Regions from separate parts of the Homo sapiens genome. Here all the other regions are linked to region 1. The links are contacts of gene promoters, found by promoter capture Hi-C in human tissues and cell types (Jung and others, 2019). All regions are on one chromosome and are shown on one strand. The core of a region is centred on a gene start or on the middle of the fragment in contact, and the rest is flanking DNA. Distances in the headings are between cores, read along the strand shown.

Region 1 (3,906 bases), core at 499-2,998:
ACAAAGGGGGAAAGTCTGTGGCTTCGGAGGAGAGAGCCTAACCTGCCTAGGAAACGCCTTGGAGTTCCCGATAACCATCCCCCGAACCCGGGAGGGATGAGCACTAGGCTCTCCCGGCTCCCGACGCTGCGCCCTGCCGCAATCAGTGGACAGCCGAATACTTCATTCGTTTCTGTTTCTGTCTCTGGTTGCAGAACCAGACTCTCACCACGTTCTTTTTAAGGTCCAGTTTCTCAGCGATGGCCGCGATCTTCTCAGATGAAGGACGTGGCTGGATAGCGAAATAGGCCTCGAGTGAACGCTTCTCCGGCGCCGCGATGGACGTGCGTTTGCGCTTCCGTTCGCTGCCGTTGAAGAGCTCTGGCTTGCTGTTCTTCTCTCGGTAGGCGGCCTCGGCCTCCTCCAACCAGGCCTGGAGCACCGGCTTGAGAGCGATCATGTTGTTGTGCGAGAGAGTGAGAGACTCGAACCTGCAGATGGTGCTTTGGCTCAGCGAGCCCACGCCGGGGATCTTGAGATTAGCCAGAGCCGCGCCCACGTCCGCCTGGGTCACCCCCAGCTTGATGCGCCGCTGCTTGAAGCGCTCGGCGAAGGCTTCCAGCTCGCGCGGGTCTGACTCCACGTCGCTGAGGCATGCAGGCATGGCGCTATGAGGGGCCACGGTGTGCGGGTGACTCATGCCCATGGCCTGGTGCAGGTGGCCCATGGCGCCCAGGTGGTGTGGATGGATCTGTGCGGGCATCACCGAGTGTTCCGGAGCGCCCAGGCCGCTCACACTCAGCGTGGGCGAGATGTGCTCCAGCAGGTCGCCTTCGAGGCCCTGGTGCACGGCGTGGTGAGGGTGTGAGGTGAGCGCAGCTGGGTGGGAGATGGGCACGGTGGACGAAGTGGACGTGCAGGGCACGCTGCTCATGGTATGGTAGGTGGCGTCGGGCTTGAACGGATGGTTCTTGCCGTGGGAGACGATATCCACCGCCGCCAGAGCTTCGGCGCGTGCCAGCAGGCTCTCATCAAAGCTTCCAAATATATTACCCTGCAGCTGCAAGCGAGAAGGCGCACAGCACGGTCAGTAGGGAATACTGTCAACACAGGATTAAAACACATTTTCAAGCAACCGAGATGCCTCTCCTCAAAGCCCAGGTCATAAAAATTAATACGGAGGCAGCGGCTCTGCTGGAACAGACGTGTGGATCAGAGACATGAATGAGAGAGAGAGCGCGCCGGGAGAGAACGCGGGGGAGACAAGGAGAGGGGTTCAGACAGCGGCGATTGTTCTGGGCGACATGAAAAAAACATGAAGCTAGTGCCTGTCAAAAAATGTGCCTTAGAGCGGTAATTATGCTCCACTACGTACCTGCGGGGCTGGGAGACAGACTCGGCGCATGGCCTCGGAGCCAGAGTGCAGACTGGAGAATTTGGGTTCTTGCAGCACCGGGTGCATGCCGAAAGGCTGCTTGGAGTTCATGGCCATCATCTTCGCGCTCCTGGCAGGGTGGCAGCGGGTGACATGGAATCAGGCTTGTCTAGCTTGCTTGCCGCTCTCCAAGTGAGCGCTGCTCAGCGCCCGCGCTCCCCTCGCCCTCTCGCTCGCTGCCTCCCCTCTCCCCCACCTGCTTCTTCACTCATCTTACAAGCAGCCTGCCAGGAAGGGCCCGGGCGCGCGCAGGCGTGCTCACGCGCCGGGGACTCGCAGGGGCGGCCCGGGAGGTGAGGAGAGACAGCAGCTAGCGGCGCGCCTTTCTGCGCCCGCGGCGGCCGCCCCCTCCACAGCCTTTATACCCGGGCCTGGCCTGGCCTCTCCCAGTCCGCCCCGCCCCGCTGGCTCCAACCCGCCAGACCTTTCCGATTCTTTCTTCTTCGTGGACTTCCCTTCCCCCATGCCACCCCAAAAGTCCCAACCTCTCCGTCCTGTCCCAGCTCGAACTGCCTGGATAAAAGGGTAGCCCTGGGCTGAGCTGGGGCAGGAAGTTGACCCTACTCCAACTTCCCCTCTCCACCACACACACACACACACACACACACACACACACACACACACACTCCGTCGGCCCGGCTGCCGCCAAACTGCCCATTTCCAGGGCGCTCCTGGCCTCACGCCCAAGCTGTCCACCAGAGTCCGGTCCCGCGGCGCAGCGAGGAGGCGCCTCCAAGCGCCCAGACGGGCCCTGGAGAGGGTGAGGGGCTGCCAGAACGAGGCCCAGGTGACCCCTGCCCCACCTCCCTCAACCGCGCTCCGGGGTAGAGGTAGGGGCAGTAACTGCCTTCTCAGTCCGGGGTGGCTTCCTCCCCACGCTTGCCTTTCTTTCTTTCATTTGAGGGATGTAACTTGGCCCACTCTTCCTCCAACCCTCCCGTCTAAGGAAGCTTGTGGAGTATTTTTTTTAGAATAGCGACTGTTCAGGATGGCCCTCCAGGCCTGGGAGTCCTTCAGTGCATTTCTGCTGGGCAGCCAGAGCTTGCAAGCCCATTCCTCGTGACAACAGCTACCGTTTAAGAGTTCCTAATATGTGCTAGACAATTTAGAGTTTGCCCATGGGATTCTCATACCCACCGTATGGAGTAGGTGATGTTATCCCGTTTTACAGATGAGGAAAACAAGGATCAGAGGGGCTAATGATTAGCCCATTCACTCACTCACCCAGTTATCCATCCATCTTACAAATATTTACTGACGGCCTGCTGCTTCCCAGGCGCCTTAGCCTCTTGGTCTTCCTTCTCAAAGTTTCGGAACTTGAGGGCTCTCGAGGTTAGCACTGCCCGCCTCCACCTCCCCTAGCCTCTTTTTCTCTCTACTTCCCTCTTCTTTCCTCTCCCTTGCCCCGCTCTAGTAAACATCGTGAATAATGGATGGGGAATCCTGGACCTCGACTACGCTGCACTCCGGTTCGGAGAGAAACCCCGCGCGTGCAGCTGTACCCCCTCGTCAGGGCCACTGCCTCCGCTGAGAGAGCGATCTTCGGGGCTTAGAGACCTCACCCTGCCTGTTATTGTGCAGGGTATGTGCGTGCCGGGTTTCCCAGAATCTGAACGAGGTGGGGTGGTGTGGTTTAGGGGAACATCCCTTAGTCCAAGAGGACGCCCTGACAGATCCGGGCTCCCTCTTCCCCTCGGCGCCCTCCAGTTGCTTTTCTCCCCATCCGAGCCAGCCCCCTCCGCTGGTTCCCGCCCTGCGATGGTGGGAAAAAGACTCAGCCCAGGTGCCTAGAGCCAAGCGCAACCCTTTCGCTAAAGCCCTCTGAGCCTCGGTTTCGGCGGCTCTTAAATGGAATTGCACTACTGTCTGCCTCCTTGGATTCTGGTGAAGACGTTCAGAGTTAGGGTAAGAAGAAAAGCATTGAGCCACGAAATTGGTGCTCAGTAAACTCCCTCACAACCTGGTGCCATAGCGCTCAGGCCCTGGCCTCAGATTCAAAATGCGCCTCTGCCTCTTGCTGGCTGAGACCACGAGATATTCTCAACTTCTCTGTACTGCGGTGTCCCCATCTGTAAAATGGGGGTGATCATTTATTTCCCATTGATTGTTGTGAGGAATGCACTGGGATAAGCACATGGCACAGTGCCTGGCGCATTGATATCATTGAATACATGTTCCTCTCTTCTTCCTCAACTTAAAGAGAAAGCATGTGAGAGTGGGGGTGGGCCAAGTCATCCTCCTGGAACCCGGTTTGTCTGCACGTGCATACTGTGGATCCTTGCTCTCCATTCACCCAACATCTGCATTGTGCCAGACCCCATGCCAAAGGCTGGGACACAGATGTGAATCAGAATCCATCCTGGCACTCAAGGAGTCACCAGTCTAATATTCACTTCAGAAAGTTAACTCTAAACTTGCCAAGCAGTAGAAGGGAGGTAGATTCATGAACAAGACACAGAGCATAAGGGTGGCAGGATTCTAGAAGTGCAGAA
Region 2 (3,906 bases), core at 530-3,029, 54 kb before region 1:
AATGTACATGCCCATTTGTATTTGAAATGACAACAACCGATTCTATTTCTCATTTTTTATTTTTATAGCTAGTGCTCAGAGCAGCTAGAAATGAGGGGAAATTGCGTTTCTTTTCAGGAGGATGGGGGAGCAAAGGGCTCTTTTATATATATATAAGATTTTACTACCCACCACTCTCTTCTTAGAATGCTTTTTTTTTTTCTACTCCTCCCAAATCCTCACCTCTATTATCCATTCCACTTATTTCTGAGTCAAAGTTCTAATCAGCAGACAGGTTTTGTCAGTGGTAGAAGATGAGCAGAGAGGATCAAAAGTGAGCCATAGGGAGAACCAGACTCAGAGCTTAGAGAAGAGAAGGAAGATGCTCCCTCTCCTAAACCTCTGATCCAAACTCATTTGTTCATCAAAAAAGAGAGTCACAATGCTTCAAGCACTGTGCTAGGCACCAGAGCTAGGTTGGTGAACAAGAAACAGACCCTGCCAGAATTTCAGCCCCTTAAAATCCTGCAAAATCAACTTTGGTGGCCAGGTAAGATGGCACCATTCAGTGAACAGCAAGGCCTTTATCTGGCAATGTCACTCTCAGGGGTGATAATGTAGTATTACCTTGAGATGCATCAGCCCTGAATGAGTCCCAAGTTTACATTTCTGGTTCTAGAGAAAAGTTTTTTCACCACCACCCGAATGAGCAGTGTATGGTCAGGAATCCACAAGATCGTTCCCCAATGCATACACATCTTAAAGCATGTGGCAGTAAACGCTGTAGACTTCAAGAAGACAAGGTTTCCATTCAAATGCACTGCTTTCCTCTTAAATTTCTCTGACACCCAGTTTCTTTATCTGCAAGTTGAGACTAAAAAGAGTGGCTCCATATACTTTCCAGACGTGCTGTGGGTGTGAAAGGAAATGATGAAAGCAAGGGTAGCTGTGAAGTTCTACTCAGATGGAAGTTGGGAGCTGTGGCAGAACTGCTGCTCACGTTGTGCCAGGTACCTTTTTGGATGAACAAGCCCCTGGAACTGTATCTGGAGATTTAAGCACTCAGCCAAGCTGCCTGGGCAATGGTGGACTTGCTACGTTCTGTTCCAGGAGCCTGTGGGTACTGAGGGAATAGGAACTCAGCTTTGTTATCTTTTTTATTTTCAAATTTTATACAAACCGTATTTTTTTCTCGTTCTAAAAGTAATATATAGGATCTTTGTAAACAAAAAGTTCAGACAATAAAGATATAAGAAGAGATTTTAAATATTACAGAGTATTGCCTTCCAAACTTCTTGGTGTGCATTCACACACATATTTTTTCCCCCAAAAGATGGGACCTTTATTGTTTTACAATCTGCCTTTTTGACTTAAGAATGTGTCCTGGCCAGCTTGCCACCTGACTTATTTAAAAGGCTCTCTGACCAGGTCTGGAGCTCTCTTCTTGAGACATAGCATCCCCTTTGAGCTCTTTCAGCATCCTTTAAGGTCTCTTTGATGGGGTTCAGTCACTCCCAGTGGCTACAAAAAATGAGAAACTTCCCCCAGCTCAAAGAAATCCAAATCGGGTATATTTACAAGCCCCACTTGCTAGGTTCTGAGACATTGACATCTTGTCATTTTTCCCCCACTTTTTCAAATTTCAAGTTGCAGTTTGATGTTGAATTAAAAATGTTGCCAGGGGCTGCCTGCAGGGCCCTCAGGCTAAAACAGTGGCAGCATCTGCCAGGGGAGACCCACAGGTCCTTCTTCAGACCATGGCAACGTACAGCTGGCATCTGAGCCCAGCAAAGGAGGGGAGAAACATGCATGTGAAAGGAAATTCAACGATCACTACTTTTTTTTTTTTAAGCCGACATCGTCAAGTCTTACCCATTTTATTTGGATTTTATGACTTAATGCCCATGGGGCATTTTGTGATCAGATTTTTGCAAAAGGGTGAAGAGATTGCAGCAACTTGCAAGAGAAAGGTCAGACCTTGTTAAACAATGCAATTGAGAATGAAAATAGGGGCTCCACGTACTTTCCAGAGGTTAAATGCCAGTCCTCATCTTAGGACCCTGGATGAATCACATGAAGGGGACAAGCATGGAGTTTATCAACAAATTTCTTTCATGCATTTGGGGTGTTTGCTGAGAAGTTCAGATGAGAAAATGCATGTGGACATGCTCTGGAAACAGGGAAGCTTTCTACAGATGAAGCCCTGAAGTCCTCTATATGCTTCTTTAAGCACTGGCCTGCGAGGACTCATGTGGAACTGGAGACAAGAATTGCCTCTAGAAAGAGGAGCTGGGTTGCTGGGAGGCAGCAGAGGAGGGGACACTTATTCTTCACTCTAGATCATTTCCTTTCTTCTGCATTTTGTACCATGTATCTGATGTACCTTTCAGCATAAAAAACAATGAATCAACAAATAAGTACTTTAGCTTAAAGGACTCTTGGGCCCTGGAAACATTCTTTAGGAAAAATACTCTTTGGCAGTGACAGCCTTTCCTTATGTGTGAAATCATGCTAAAGTCCACTAAGTCTTTTCACTGAACAGCACTAATGGCTTCATTCTTTCCTATAGAGTACTTTTTGTTTAAAAATAAAAAAGAGCATTCAAATCAAAGAACCAGCAAAAGTCTTCCATTATTATTGTCTTTATAATAATGTGCTATGTATTTTCTGACCGTGGAAAAGAAGTGATAGCCTCAGATGGCATACGTGGCTATTAATTAATGAGACTGGCTTCTGCACAAGTCTTGTGATTGTCACTATATTACTTATGCTATACCTGTTATATATGAGTAATATTATATATATTATATACTCATTACTATGTCATTCTAGCTCATTCTCAATCCTAGCTGTGCTGCCTTGGACATTTACTAGCTGTGCTCCCTTGAACAAATTACTTAACCTTTCTGAGCCTTCGTTTCTTCATATGTAGAACGGGTGCTAACAGTAGGAACTGCCCCAAAAGGTTGTTATGAGTTAAATGATACTGCCTAGGGCCTGACACAGTAAGTGTTCAACAAACACCATTCTTATTATTAATGTTATTTTTATTACAACTATCTTTGGAGATAAACAAATGTTGAAACCTCAAACTGATCCATAGGTGTGTTGGGGAAGAACAATGGCTGTAAAACAGAAAGGAAGCAGTGTGAAAGAAAGCTTATTGTCTCAAGGTCTACAAATCTTATTGAGCAAATCCACACAATTCTCATAAGCAATACCTTGCTAGGTGGCATGCCTCTCAGAGTGTCTTTATCCTGATTTTATTTTACTACCCTTCCCATCATATCTTTCTCCCCTACATGTTGTCTTTCACAAAACAATAATAGAGAGAGCCATTGTATCCTACGAATGCCTGAGATTTAGCCTTTCACTTCTTTAGATTGAGAGCTGCTCCTGGTGATGACTGTGGTAAGTGATGAATGCTGGGGGAATACATGAAGAATAAAGGTACCTAAAAATTGCTCATTCTTTTTTCATTCCTTCAACAAATAATTATTGAATGTCTGCTAGTGGCAGACACTCTTTTAGAAAAGTTGTTCTCAACTGGGGACTATTTGCGCCCCCCAGGGGACATGGGGCAATGTCTGGAGACAGTTTTGGTTGTCACAACTAGGAGGCGGTGTGCTACTGGCAGCTAGTGGTTAGAGGTCATGGATGCTGCTAAACATCCTACAATGCACAGAACAGCCTCCTATGTCAAAGAGTTATGCAGCCCAGAGGTCAGTAGTGTCAAAGATGAGAAATCCTATTCATTCTAGAGGCTTGGGAAAATTATATCTGAAAGCAAAATTCCCTGCTTTTGTAGAATATAAATCCACAAACAGTCAGAAAATAGACTGTAAAAAGGATAAGTAAATTAGAAAGTGATGTTTTGTTTTTTTAAAAACACAAAGGTAAGCAGGGTAAAAAGTATGAGTGCTGGGC
Region 3 (3,906 bases), core at 490-2,989, 43 kb after region 1:
GCCAGGATGGTTTCGATCTCCTGACCTCGTGATCCACCCGCCTTGGCCTTCCAAAGTACTGGGATTAAGGTGTCAGCCACCACGCTCGGCCAAGAAAGGATTCTTGTCTGGAAAGTGAGCCCTTTCTACCATCTTGGGAAGTGATTTATAAGACTGTTAAAACATGCTGTATTTGAGGCAACTCATGACTACATGCAATGTGTACTTACAACTGCTAAGGATTAGAAAATGTCGTTACCTATAGCTGTCTTTATCTAGTTGATTATCATGGTGTACAGTACTATAGAAATATAGAGGTGCCAACTCAGGTATGCAGTATACCTTTCTCTTTTCTTCAACATTGCTTACACATTTATTTAGGTGATCCCACAAGATTTAATAACCAAGGTAGAAAATTCAATTGCAGTTGAAAATAATTCGAGACAATCTGATGAAGCTTAGATCTGCTAATAGTGATGTACATTTCACAAAATACCTTCAGTGAACTCCCATTTAATGTTCATTGCAACCCTGTGAACATTAAATGGGTACTAATATTATAATGTTCATTTTATATGAGTAAACTGAGTCTTCTAAAGACTAAGAAGGTCAGGTGCAGTGACTACACCTGTAACCTTAGTGCTTTGGGAGGCTGAGGTAGGAGGATCACTTGAGCAAGGAAGTTGAGGCTACAATGAGCCGTGATAGCACCACTGCACTCCCACCAGGCAGCTTGGATGACAGAGAGAGACCTTGTCTCCAAATAAACGAAAAAAAAAAAGACAAACAAAACAAAAAAGACTAATCCCTACTCACAAGTAGCAAGAATTGAGATGTGAGCACAGTATCAAGCAATGGTTAAAAGCCCCACTTTGATGTCAGGCATAACGTGGTTTTAATTGTTGGCTTTGCTTTGAGACTATCGGTGACACAACTGCTCTATGCCCGAGTTTCCTCTTGCACAAAAAAGGAAAAATAATAGTATACCTCAGAGTTAAATAATAATGTTTAAGAAACTTAATAATGTTTAAGAAACAGCACAGTGAGTCACATAATGAGCAATGACATGGTAAACAATCTTATTTTGATCATAAGGCTCTACGGACCATTTTATGGCTGAGAAATGCCCAAGGTGTGGGAGATGAGCTACCTGCATCAGCTCTGCGGGCCCTGAGTTCTGCTTGCCATCCCTCTCTCAGGTCAAGAATACTAACATTGGCTGCGCGGGGTGGCTTATACCTGTAATCCCAACACTTTGGGAGGCCAAAGCGGGTGGATCACTTGAGGTCAGGATTTCGAGACCAGCCTGGCCAACATGGTGACACCCCGTCTCTACAAAAAATAAAAAAATTAGCCAAGTATGGTAGCACAAACCTGTAATCCTGCTGCTGGGTGGCTGAGGCACAAGAATCACTTGAACTCGGGAGGCAGAGGTTGCAGTGAGCCAAGACTGTGCCACTGCACTCCAGCCTGGGAAACAGGGTGAGACTCTCTCAAAAAACAAACAAAAAAGAGTGCGGACATAAAAGTACTGCATGGAGGGAAAAAAAAAAAAAGCACTGAATGAAAATGAAACCATGCTTAAAGAAACCAAGGCTTAATTTTATTTTTTTTAAAAAAAAGCAAGTATATTGTGATGTAGTAACTTCCACAATTCCTTTTCTAAATTTTCAACAATTTCTTCTTAGCACCATTAAAGTTGTGGTGAAATGAAATGAAAATTAACCAAATAAAAGGCAGAGAGATAGCTTGTTCTTCGTTCTCTCTCCTGGTTCTTCATTTAAGTCGTTTACTCGACAGTCATTAAAGTGCTTCTGTGTGCGGAATATTTTACCGTCTCATCTGTTTTCTTAATTTCTTATTTATGGCACACACACATACAAAAATCCATGTTTCTGGGCAAGAATGGTAAAGGATGACCCGACCAATCAAAATTCATTGTACTCTCTCTTTCCTTCCTTCCTTTCCTCTTTTTCTCTTTTTTTTCTTTCTTTTCTTTCCTTTTTTTTTTTTTTTCTTTTCTTTTTTTGAGATGGAGTCTCGCTCAGTCCCCCAGGCTGGAGTGCAGTGTCATGATCTTGGCTCACTGCAACCTCCGCCTCCTGGGTTCAAGTGATTCTCCTGCCTCAGCCTCCCAAGTAGCTGGGATTACAGATGCCCGCCACCACACCCAGCTAATTTTTGTATTTCTAGCAGAGATGGGGTTCCACCGTGTTGCACAGGCTGGTCTCAAACTCCTGGGCTCAAGTGATCCTCCTGCCTCAGCTTCCCAAAGTGCAATTTTTCTATTTTAAGTGTGCTGGTTTTCTTTGGATTCTGATTCATGCAGGCCATGCTGAAAGAAAGACAAGTGAAGCCATCTACTGTTACCACTTCTGCTACCCTAAGTCTATGAAGCATAAAACTGCCAGTGATGATAATCAAAACCTCAAAATGAATAAAAAGGCAATCCTCCATGGTTGTAAAACAGACGAGGCAAAATATGCTATGTTGTTTTTACAATATTGAAAGTTCTCTGAACACGTCTGAATGTACCAGTTAGGTTCTACTTTTCTTTTTCCAGATAAGACCATTTCTGAGAAATTGACAGGTGTCTATAACTCACAAATAGCTTTCCAAAAATACTAGGATCTCAGTACAGCTTTCCATAAAGAGTTCTTATGTAAGTCCTCACTCTTAAGTAGATTTTAATAATTTACTTCAATCTCTAGACTTTTCTTCAGCTTCATCTAATTTATCAATAATATTCACTTGAAAATTTAAAACAAAGAGTAGATGAAACTTCTTTGACATTCTTGGGGGCCTTGGGAGACCACACAGCACCATTCTATTGAGATGACTCCAAATAATTTCCACATGAATGGCTAAAGTGCAGAAATGTATAATTTATTAGGATTTAAATAAATCAGGGAGAAAAGTGCTTTAAAGTTATTGGTAGAAAATTTTCAAAAAATAAAGTTATAATTCTAAGAAATTAAGTTTCTACGTATAAAATATAAAATTCTTCCTTCCCTATATTTAACATTTCAAAGCAAAATATGCTGAAAAACTCTTTAATAACATGCATTTTTTTTTTTAGCATTCGATCACAGTAAAATTTTTAAAAAACACACGACATACTTCTGGAATCTTCACAGAGGAAAAAAAAGCACACGACATAATCCGATTTTATTTTTAGGGTGAAATACCTTTCTTAAAACATGTGCTGTGTGGCCAGGATGTTATAATCATTCTCTTTTGTCTCAGCAATTTCCCTGATACAATTTTCATATTGGAAATATTCCCTAATGCTACAAAATTTGTCAAGAATAAAAAACTTTTTCATTCAATCTCTTAGAACATGGCTAGTTTTCTCATGGGCTGTCAAAGAATAAAAAGTCCCCTCTTCTTCAAGGCCGCTTACATCTTTTTCTTTTTTCAGATAACTATTACCGTAACAACTACAAGTCAATAAACATTTTGAAGTTCTCCAAATAGCAAAAATTAGAAATCCACAAAGATTTGGAATGATCTAAGAAATCTGAACATGTAAAAAAAATCAACTCCCCAAACAGAACAATGACATGAACATCAGTTTTATTCACTGAGAATATACTTTTTAAAAATATGGCATAAACATAACTATAAATGAACACTGCTATTCTCAGCACTTTTTGTCTAGAAAATTCAGTGTTCTATATGAAAACATCATTAAAGCATGTAAACTTATTTATGTACGTGATTTTTTTAATGCCAAAGTTAAAAGGAAAAAGGCACGAGAAATATTGAAAAACACAAAGAAGCAAGGTAGAAATACTGCAAGATTATCATAATTCAATTTGTCACAGGGAAAAAAACATTTAAGATAAAATTGAAAACAAAATAACACAGGTTATGATATAGCCAAATTACTGTGAAATGTATCAAATTGGCTGGCTGTACATTGTG
Region 4 (3,906 bases), core at 952-3,451, 34 kb before region 1:
CCAGCCTGGGCAACATGGCAAAACCCTGCCTCTACACAATTAAAAAAAAAAAATTAGCCAAGCACAGTAGCACACACCTGTAGTCCCAGCTACTCGGGAGGCTGAGGTGGGAGGGTCACCTGAGCCCAGGGAGGTCGAGGCTGCAGTGAGCTGAGATCAAGCCACTGCTCTCCAGCCTGGGTGTCAGAGTGAGACCCTGGGTGTCAGAGTAAGACCTTGTCTCAAAAATAAAAAACAAAAAACACAAAACACAAAACACATAGATAGATAGATAGATAGATGATAGATAGATAGAACTGAAGGGAAATAAATCTAGCCATAATCCCACCACTTTGATAAAATTACTAGCTGGCATTTTTACATGTTGTATTTCTTTTCCATCTTTTTCTAGGCATATTTCAATATCAAGAGAATTACACTCTATATACCACCTTGTATCCTACATTTTAATTCAATGTCTTCTTATTCTTTCAATATTATAAAATCATCCTAAAACCATCACTTTTTTTTTCTTTTGAGACAGAGTCTCACTCTATCACCCAGGCTGGAGTGCAGTGGCCCTATCTCAGCTCACTGCACCCTCCACCTCCTGGGTTCAAGTATTTCTCATGCCTCAACCTCCTGAATAACTGGGATTACAGACATGTGCCACCGTGCCCAGATAATTTCTGTATTTTTTGTAGAGACGGGGTTTCACCATGTTGGCCAAACTGGTCTTGAACTCCTGGCCTCAAGTGATCTACCCACCTCAGCCTCCCTAAGTATTGGGATTACAGGCGTGAGCCACCACGCCCTGCCTGAAACTATTACTTTCAACTTCATTGTTTAATAATTATCTCCTGAGCAACATGGAAACATGGCAAAACCCTGCCCCTACAAAAAAAATACAAAAATTAACTGGGCATGGTGGTGTGTGCCTGTAGTCCAGCTGCTCAGGAGGCTGAGGTGGGAGGATTGAGCCCGGGAGGTCAAGGCTGCAATGAGCTGTGATCATGCCACTGCACTCTACCCTGAGAGACAGAGCAAGACCCTGTCTCAAAATAAATAAAAATAATTATCTCTTTTTTGGTCAGTCTCCCAGGGGTCCCTGTCCTCTTGAGGGCTGGGTCTATGTCTTACCTTTTTCTTCATAGCACTACCTCAGTGCCCAGCATACAGTAAGTGCTCATTATAGCTCATGAAATCAATGAGCAAACACTTCATAGTCTACCTGGTATTTTTGTATGTGAGCTGTTTCTAAATTTTCAGGATTGCCATTCGTGCCATGGCGAATGTATGGCATTTAGAACATCTTGGATTTCCCATCACCCCTCACCTTTCTGCATCTATGTTGGCCTTATTCATATAACAAACCTTGGCAATCTTGTTCATGTGAAAAGTGGTGGAGCAAATAACTCGGAACATGTTACCTATTCCATTGACTCTGCAACTTCCAAGCAGGGCAGTTCGACTTGGATATACAAACCCAGTAAGTAATCCTAAACTTGTCATCCTTATTGGAAATTTCCTTTAAGGTTATTCCATGCTGAGTAGTACTCCAGGGGTTCCTGGAAGGGAACACTTTAATTTCTTCCATTGATCACAGACATGAGAAGATCCAATTTATTTACCTGCTCACATCACCTAGTTTTCAAATGGCTTCTGAACACAGTGCCAATAAATAAATGATCATCCAGTAATAGGTCAAATTTATTTTTCACTTCTAAGGTGCCAGGTACTTTACATATAATTTTCATAGTACAACTCTCTGAGGTCACTACTATTATTCTTCATATTAAATAAAGAAAGAAATGGGAACTAAGAGAGGTTAAGTAACTTGCTCAGGATTACACAGAAGAATGAAGTGTAATTTCATTTTACAGAATAAAATATTTTTTATCAATAAGTAACTATTAACCTCCAAGACTGCTTCTCTGCATATGTGGAAAAGTGACCTGCTTAAATGATATTACCCAAGGGATATTAAAATATTGTCCCACCCCAAAACTTTACCTATTGCTTTATACTGCCATGGGGCCTGGAGATGCCATAATTAATTTACTTTTTGACTTATGGTACTGTCTGCAGACAGTCCTGAAAGAGAAATACAACTGTCCTAGTAGGAGCAGTATATTAAGACATTTGCACACATTAAGGCCGGACGCAGTGGCTCACGCCTATAATCCGGCACTTTGGGAGGCCGAGGCAAGCGGATCACGAGGTCAAGAGATGCAGACCATCCTGGCTAACACGGTGAAACCCCGTCTCTACTAAAAATTACAAAAAATTAGCCAGGCGTGGTCGCGGGTGCCTGTAGTCCCAGCTACTCGGGAGGGTGAGGCAGGAGAATGGCCTGAACCTGGGAGGCGGAGCTTGCAGTGAGCCTAGATCGTGCCACTGCACTCCAGCCTGGGTGACAGAACGAGACTCCGTCTCAAAAAAAAAAAAAAAAAAATTAATTTTTTAAAAAAAGTTATTTGCCCACATTAATACGTCAACCCTACTTAGGTTGTCAGATTAGTTAACTCTATGGTTCTTGACTCTACAATGTACCCCACACGTTGTAACTATTCTTCCTCAACAGCTTTTGAAAATATTACTGCCAGACCTCACCTGCCCCCTTGAGATTCTGATTCAACTGAGCTGAGCTAAGGCACAGGCAGGCTTGAGAACTCCTGAACTAACTGAGCATTCTATCACTTTATAAGATCTTGAAAACAATTGAAATATAGAATAACTAAGCTTTGTTGAGAATGTCTATTAAGATTCTGAGTAAAAGGGCAACTCCCAAGCTCAACATGTAATTGGGAAACACTAAAGAACAACAACAAAATGGGGGTGGAAAGGTGTTGAAAATCCGTTTTCTCCATTTCCCACATGTGTTTACCTTGGACCAACTGGGTTTGCTAGAGCTTTATCTTGGAGTTCTGGGGACTTTTCGTTTTTTTTTTTTGTTTTTTTTTTTTGAGACAGAGTCTCACTCTGTCACCCAGCAGGCTGGAGTGGGCACGATCTCGGCTCACTGCAACCTCTACCTCCCTGGTTCAAGCGATCCTCCTGCCTCAGCCTCCCAAGTAGCTGGAACTACAGGTGCCTACCACCACTCCTGGTTAATTTTTTTTCGTTTCTTTTTTTGTCATTCTTTCATTTTATATCTGATTATATGTAGTTTATTGGCTGATCTCCCGTCCTAGGAATCTTAGGCTGCATTCCTAGAGCAGGGTTCCAAGGCCTAGGCTGCATATGGGGCGGGAATAACACCAGCCAGAGATGAAATTGGGATAAAGCCAAGCAATTCATTTGGCTCAAGTGTCACTAGGAAGGGGGCAAGCAAAGAATCAGAAATTGGGCCTGAAGCAACAGGATGGGAACTGTAGAGTTCAGGATAGGGAGAGGGGTTTTTGAATGAGGGAGAGGAGGCATGGCCTGGAAGGATTCTCCAAGGCTCTAGCACATAGACAAGGAGGGCTTTAACAGCCACCTGTAGCATGACCTCAGGTAGGAAGGGAGCTATTGAGGCCACTGAGGCCTCTGAGCCAAGTAGAGAATTCTCCCACCCCAGCAAAATTAGCCTGGCAGGTGAAGAAAGCACGATTGCCTTTGTGTATTTTTAGAAGATGAAGTATTGAATCCCACTGCAGTAGTAGTGGTAGAAATAATTAATTTATTGATTACCCACTTGCTAGGTAGTGTTCAATGTATTTTATTATCTTACTTAATCCCCACAATAATTCTATAAGGTAGTTACAATCATGACTTTCTGGGATGGATATGGTCAATTGGTACTTAGCACCAATTTCCACCTTCTTTGAGGGAACTTTCTGTTTTCTGAAGGCTAGAAAACTAGCTCATTTCGTGAATTCCTTGCAGCTAGGGTCTAGATGTGAGATAGATTCCATGAAGTAAAAGCATCTGGGCAAGATTCAG

Evidence for each region. Contacts are between HindIII fragments. The study calls those that stand out against the background at their distance.
Region 2: a contact is called between a fragment that was not itself captured here and the fragment with the promoter of POU4F3 in region 1, in 2 of the 25 tissues and cell types used here (H1 embryonic stem cells and thymus).
Region 3: a fragment that was not itself captured here is called in contact with the fragment with the promoter of POU4F3 in region 1 in 2 of the 25 tissues and cell types used here (mesendoderm cells and thymus).
Region 4: a contact is called between a fragment that was not itself captured here and the fragment with the promoter of POU4F3 in region 1, in 2 of the 25 tissues and cell types used here (H1 embryonic stem cells and liver).

Annotation. Positions count from the first base shown.
Region 1 is chr5:146,336,681-146,340,586 of GRCh38, reverse strand. It overlaps POU4F3 (POU class 4 homeobox 3), which reads right to left and starts at 1,748. Exons shown (of 2, transcript NM_002700.3): 1 at 1,355-1,748; 2 at 1-1,039. The coding sequence starts at 1,474. The coding sequence ends at 143. RBM27-POU4F3 (RBM27-POU4F3 readthrough) reads right to left here. Exons shown (of 20, transcript NM_001414499.1): 19 at 1,355-1,484; 20 at 1-1,039. The coding sequence ends at 1,029. The HindIII fragment of the contact is 4,777 bases long and covers 1-3,198 here.
Region 2 is chr5:146,390,350-146,394,255 of GRCh38, reverse strand. No RefSeq gene overlaps it. Among named protein-coding and RNA genes, the nearest start is that of POU4F3, 53 kb to the right of the region's middle. The HindIII fragment of the contact is 5,599 bases long and covers 1-3,906 here.
Region 3 is chr5:146,293,587-146,297,492 of GRCh38, reverse strand. All of the region lies in intron 18 of RBM27-POU4F3 (RBM27-POU4F3 readthrough), which reads right to left. Among named protein-coding and RNA genes, the nearest start is that of POU4F3, 43 kb to the left of the region's middle. The HindIII fragment of the contact is 6,638 bases long and covers 1-3,906 here.
Region 4 is chr5:146,370,812-146,374,717 of GRCh38, reverse strand. It overlaps LOC105378213 (a long non-coding RNA gene), which reads left to right. Exons shown (of 3, transcript XR_001742915.1): 3 at 1,249-1,466. Among named protein-coding and RNA genes, the nearest start is that of POU4F3, 34 kb to the right of the region's middle. The HindIII fragment of the contact is 4,563 bases long and covers 1-3,906 here.